Regions from separate parts of the Homo sapiens genome. Here region 1 is linked to region 2. The links are contacts of gene promoters, found by promoter capture Hi-C in blood cells and fetal thymus (Javierre and others, 2016). All regions are on one chromosome and are shown on one strand. Each heading gives the region's core, a stretch centred on a gene start or on the middle of the fragment in contact. The rest is flanking DNA. Distances are from core to core; before and after follow the strand shown.

Evidence for each region. The method cuts DNA at HindIII sites, captures the fragments that hold promoters and counts their contacts. A CHiCAGO score of 5 or more calls a contact.
Region 1: a contact is called between a fragment that was not itself captured here and the fragment with the promoter of BCL7C in region 2, in 5 of 17 cell types (naive CD4 T cells, fetal thymus, non-activated CD4 T cells and 2 more). The highest score is 8.2, in naive CD4 T cells.

What each region holds. Positions count from the first base shown.
Region 1 is chr16:31,458,307-31,461,312 of GRCh38, forward strand. It overlaps ARMC5 (armadillo repeat containing 5), which reads left to right and starts at 1,195. Exons shown (of 6, transcript NM_001105247.2): 1 at 1,195-1,693. The coding sequence starts at 1,219. RefSeq lists enhancers at 325-865, 864-1,203 and a silencer at 1,394-1,743. The HindIII fragment of the contact is 2,362 bases long and covers 171-2,532 here.
Region 2 is chr16:30,892,771-30,895,487 of GRCh38, forward strand. It overlaps BCL7C (BAF chromatin remodeling complex subunit BCL7C), which reads right to left and starts at 1,307. Exons shown (of 6, transcript NM_004765.4): 1 at 1,083-1,307; 2 at 442-520; 3 at 70-178. The coding sequence starts at 1,174. MIR762HG (MIR762 host gene) reads left to right here. Exons shown (of 3, transcript NR_110942.1): 3 at 1,778-2,450. It overlaps MIR762 (microRNA 762), which reads left to right and starts at 1,133; the gene lies at 1,133-1,215. RefSeq lists enhancers at 264-896, 435-764, 2,508-2,717 and a silencer at 1,145-1,624. The HindIII fragment of the contact is 7,734 bases long and covers 841-2,717 here.

The DNA of each region.
Region 1 (3,006 bases), core at 102-2,601, 570 kb after region 2:
TTTTAGCGGTGTGAGCGCGCTGGTGCTGGATCAGGTTGGAGCTGACGCTGAAAGTCTTACCACACTAGGCACAGGCATAGGGCCGAAGCGATGGTCACACTCGGGGCAGGAGTACGGCTTTTCACCGGTGTGTACCCAGTGGTGCTTAACCAGATCAGAGCCACATCGGAAGCTTCTGCCATAACCCGGACAACGGTAAGGCTTGTCACCAGAGGGGCTGCCTTGGTGGTGAATGAAGCCGGGGAGGCAGGCTGTGGTCAGTCCACATTTCCGGCACTCGCAGGTTTTGGGGCTTGTAGACGGTTGCTCTTGGCAAAGGCTTCTTCCTCCCCAGGGCTAGAGCCTGACCATTTTCCGGGCGGGCAGCTGCCCCGACCACACCAGGAAGGGCTGCTCAGGCGGAGCCACCTCGCAATCCAGGGGTGACCTGGGGGCTCCCCGGGACGCGAATGTCCCGCTCCCCCGCCGCCCCGCCCCGTCCGGATTCTCCCTCGCCTCTTCTGGCGCGGCCGACTGCGCTGCGAGTGAAGAACTCCCCGTTTCCTAGATGCCAGCTCCTGAGCTCACGAGCACGTCCAGAGCGGAGGACACTCGGGACACCGGGGTCCAGCTCCGGAAACGGAAAATTCCACAAGCCCGTCACTCTAGGAAGCGGCAGCGAACGTTCTCGGTAGGTTTAACCCTCTTCTTCCTCTGACCGAGCGAGGGCTCCCCGTCTGCGGCGCGGTCAGGACCCCGCACTTTCGGCCCGGCTCGGGGTTCTCGGAGTCCGTCCCAAGGCCGGGCCGCACCACCGCTGGGGGGCAGCGAAGCGAGCCTAGAGGAGAAAAGGCGGTCCCCGCCGAGTGCACGCCGGGGGCGGGGCACGGCACGAAGGCTCCGTGGTCGGACTTCTGGGCTGTTCGGAGGCCCTGGCCCACCTGGAGGGCCCTGGAAGAGTTTCCAGCGCTTCCCGAGGTAGGCGTGAGAAGCTCGACGCGGACCACATCTCCCTCATGCACCGCCCGCACGTCCCAGGATGCGCTGCGATTAAGGTACTGCCGCGCCTCGTGTGCAAGGACAGACTTCCGGGGTCGAGAACTACAACTTCCGACTTGCATCACTGCGGTGGCGCTAAACAGCGTCAGCGAGGCGGTGCCCGACGATTTCCCTGTCTTCCAGTTCCGCTCCCTGGGATCAGCGGCGAGAAGCGGGGCGGAGTCTGAGGCCCGAGCCAAGATGGCGGCTGCGAAGCCAACCCTCACGGACTCGCTCTCGTTCTGCCTCGCGCAGCTCGCGGCGGCGGCCGGGGAGGCTCTGGGTGGGGAAAAGGACCCAGCGACCAACGAGACACCCCTGAGCCGCGCGCTCCTAGCCCTCCGCACGCGCCACATCAAGGCAGCGGGGGGAATCGAGCGCTTCCGGGCACGCGGCGGGCTCCGCCCCCTACTCGCGCTGCTACGGCGAGCGGCTGCAGCGGGTTCCGCCCCGTCCCAGGCAGGCCCCGGCTCCGCCCCCTCGTCGGCCGCGTCGGGAGCTTCTAGCCCCGCCCCCGCGTCGGGCCCCGCCCCCTCCGCTGTGTCGTCGTCTAGTCCTACGCCGCCAGTGCGCCTGCGCAAGACGCTGGACTTGGCGCTCAGCATCCTAGCCGATTGCTGTACGGAAGGGGCGTGCCGGACCGAAGTGCGCAGACTCGGAGGCATACTCCCTTTGGGTAAGTGCTCCGCCCCCGTTTCCTAGAAAGATTAGGTTTGCAACTCCCTTGCTCTCTAGACCCGGGCAGTCTGGAGTTCTTTGTGTCCTATCCCGGAATAACGTGCTTTGTGATGGCGCATCGCTCCTGTTTCTCAATCTGTTGTGCCCCGTGACGTCACTGCACTCTCTATAGATGAGAGAGAGCCCTCCCAGACCAGATAATTGTAGCCATTATCTAGGAATTGGTTGTTGAGGACTTCTTTCGAAGCTGGACTAGCGGAGGCCAAAGAGTTATTTGGTGATTTTTTCAGATGATTCTTACCGTCCAGTTATGATGTTCATAGCAGACATTCAGTGCCCAACTATGTGTCCGGCCCTGTGCAAGGTTCTGAAGCCCCACTGATGAGCTGGAAGGTGTAGTGGTTCAGAAAGGGAGATCTGCAAAAGTCACCTAACCCCTCCGAGGCTAGGATTCCTTGTAAAATGGGGCAATAATAGCTACCTAAAAAAATCAGAGTGGGGAGAAAACGAAGTACAAATATGGCACGAATATGCAAATATTCTAAGCATGATACGTATTTCAAGTTATTAAAAACTAGCATAAGCTGGGTGCAGTGGTACGCGCCTGTAGTTCCAGCTATTTGGGAGGCTGAGGCGGGAGGATCCCTTGAGCCTAGGAGGTTGAGGCTGCAGTGAACAATGACTGCCTGTGAATAGCCACTGCATTCCAGCCTGGGCAACGTAACAAGACCTCGTATCTTAGAAAACCAAACAAATCAGTAGTCGCTTAGGAAGCAGGAAAAAATAAATAAAAATAATTAAAACCAGCACAGTAAGAACAAATCCTAGCAAAACATAAGCTTTTCTGTTTACCAGCTAAATTGGTGCCTCCTAGTGGCAATGTGTGAAAGCAGTTTACATGTCACTACCTGCCTTCCACGAAATTATGCTAGTTTTGATGACATCTTAACTTTTCGGATAAAGGGAAGCATTAATATATTTAAAATTTACATAAAATGTATCTGGACCATATATGTTTGACAAGAGCTTTGGTTATTAAATAACCCCCATCATTCAGCTACTATTTTTCATCTTAAATATCTTCTGAATTTATCTGCTTCTCTCTCTTCCTACTTCCATTGTGTGCCCAGAGACTGGTATCTCTGTGCTGTGTGATGCCAGTAGCTGGGTTGGTTCAAGCTATTGTCTTTTCATGCTTGGACTATTATGACAGCCTTTTGACTCCCCCCTTCCTATTCTTTCCCCATAATGCATTCTCCCTATGGATGTCAGATTGTATCGTGTCACTCCCCTTCATAAAACCCTTGTGTG
Region 2 (2,717 bases), core at 57-2,556:
GTTGGCCTGAGATCCCTAGTACACTCCTTCAGTCCCCACAGCCCCCCGCGTTTCAGGATCCCTACCTACCATTAAGATCCAGCAGGATGAGAGGGCCACCCCCTCGGGGACTGGCGCCCCTGCCCCGACGTTCCCGGCCACGGGATCTCTCTGCCCCGCCACCTGCCCGCCTTCGCTCCTGGGGGTTAGAGGATTAGGGTCAGAGCTCTTGGAAAGCCCCACCATACACCTAAGGAAACTGAGGCACTGAGAAGCAAAAGGGCTCAAACTCAGGGGGTGTGGAGCAGAAAAGAGGGCAAAAGGGGAGGAGCTGCTAATGATGGTTCCCGTCTGTCCTGCTGCATCTGAGGTCTCGGGGAGCTGGAGGTAGAGGTCAGCGTGGGGAGGAACTTGCCTGAGGTTGCACAGATGCAGGGCCTTGTGGGAATGGGGGTTGCTCACCTCCTCCTGGGGATCCACCACTGGCACCCACTTGAAGATACGAAGGGAAGTGTCGCCCACAGTCACCCATCGCTTCTCCCTGTGGGAGGGTGGGGGGCTGGGTCAGAGAGGCCTGAGGGGAGACCCACCCCCCTAGGAGCTGGACACATCTGGGGGTACCTGCAGAGGTTGAGGAGGCACAGGAGGATAGCAACAGTTTTGCTAATGGGGCATAGTTACATGGAGGAAGAGAGTCCTGCAAACCCCAGGGCATAGGCGGTGGGTGCCTCTAGAGAGAGGATATGATTTGGGGCCCTGGCTCTGCGGACCCCTGGGGCACACATGGGGGGCGTGGCTATGGGCCTGGCCCGGGATCAGAGCCCTGCAGATCCTGGGGCGCACCTGCAGGAGGGGTGTCAAAGCTTTAGGGGGCGGGGCACAAGAGGGGGCTCCCGCTCTGGGAGGACACGGCTGGGGATCACGCTTTGTAGACCCCCAGGAGTAGCCAGGCGAACGGGGACAGAGCCCTGTGGATCCAGGGCAAAGCTAGTGGGTGGAGATACACCGAACACCCGGGGCCCAGAGCTGGCGAGGGCAGCGTAGACGCCTTTGGTGCTGGTGGTCCCGCTGTGTCCCGTCCCTGGCCCCCGAGCAGCGCTCACCATCTCCGGACCTTCTCGATGGTCGCCATCACCTTCTTGATGTCATCCTTGGCCCGGCTCCGGGTCTCGGCCCGTACAGTCCGGCCGGCCATGCTGGCGGGGCTGGGGCCGGGGCCGAGCCCGCGGCGGGGCCGCCTCCCGTCCGGCGGGCTCAGGCTCCGCGCCAGGCCCGGGCGCCGCGCTCTCGGCCTGCCGTCCCCCCTGGAGTTGGCCGCGCCCTCTCTCGTCCCCAACGCCTCCGCAAGTCCCCGCCCCGTTTCCTGCCGCCGCGCCCCGCCCCGGCCTGTCCCCGGAGCGGCCCGGTGGCGCGGGCGGCCAGAGCCCAGGCCTGGAAGCCCGGCCGGCCCCGCCCCGACCCGGGCCCGCCCCCTTGGAGCGCCTGGACGCTCAGCGCCCCCTGCCCGCCGCCGAGAGCGGGAGTTGGGGACGGACGCGCGAGTTGGGGACGGAGAGCGGGAGTTGCGACCGGACGCGCGAGGCAGGGCCGAGGCCGTGTGTTCAGACCACGTGGGCGCGGGGTGCGCGACAGGGTCTGTGTCCTGCGCTGCGTGAGCCGCGGTGGGTGTCCGCGAAACGCTGTGTGTGGAGTGCGTGCGTGTGTCCGCCCTCGCCAGGCTGTTGGTCTACACCGCCCAACTTACTCAGTCATCCATTCATTCAACAGTCTTGTTAACTGAGTGCCAATTACGCTCCAGGCGCTGCGAATACGAGTGGGTCTCCACCACCAGAATGGCTAAAGTGAAAAAGACCGCACCGTGTGGAGGCGAGAAAGTAGAGCGACTGGACCTCTCTTGTATTTCTGGGGGAGTGTAAATTGGTAGAGACATTTTGGAAAACTGGCAGTTTTCTAATGAAGCCGAACATATGCCACCTCTGTGATCCAGCAGTTCCACTCCTAGGCTGTCAACACCCAGCAGAAATGTGTAGGTGTGAGCATCAAGAGGGTGCATGGGAATGTTCAGAGCCCTTTCATAACAGCCCCAAACTGGAAATAACCCATCAACAGAATGGAAAATGAATGATGCCCTACTCACTACCATGCACATAGACACAGCAACGGGATTGACATGCCCGGCTACACACAGCAACATAGACAAGTCGCATGATGAAATCTTGAGTGACAGAAGCCAAATGCAACAGTACATACTAGATGGTTCCAGGTGTATTACGTTCAGAACCAGACAAAACTAATTTATAGTGCACCAAAGTCAAGATAGTGATCGCCCTTAGGGTTGGGAGGGGACGAGGGGAGAGCTTCTGGGAGCTGATCCAGTTCTGTTGTGTAATCTGGTGCTGGTTCCCTGGGCATATGTATTCTGTGAAAATCCATCACATGACTTAAATAAAATGTACATTACTTAAATAAAATGAGTGTGTCTTTGTTGACTTTATTTGAGGCTGGCTTGTCAGCAGATAAGACCATGTCAAAATTTGTGCTGCTGTTGTGTGTGTGTGTGTGTTTCAAGGTGTGGCTGTTGTGTCTGTGAATTTGGGCGTGACCATGTCCAGAGGTTAAGGGTATAAGGGGTTAGGAGCATGGTTAAGACAGCATTTTTTTGAGCCAAGCTGCTTAGGTAAAATCCCAGTTGTGCCACACCTAACTGTGTTACCCTGGACAAGTCACTTCTCTCTATT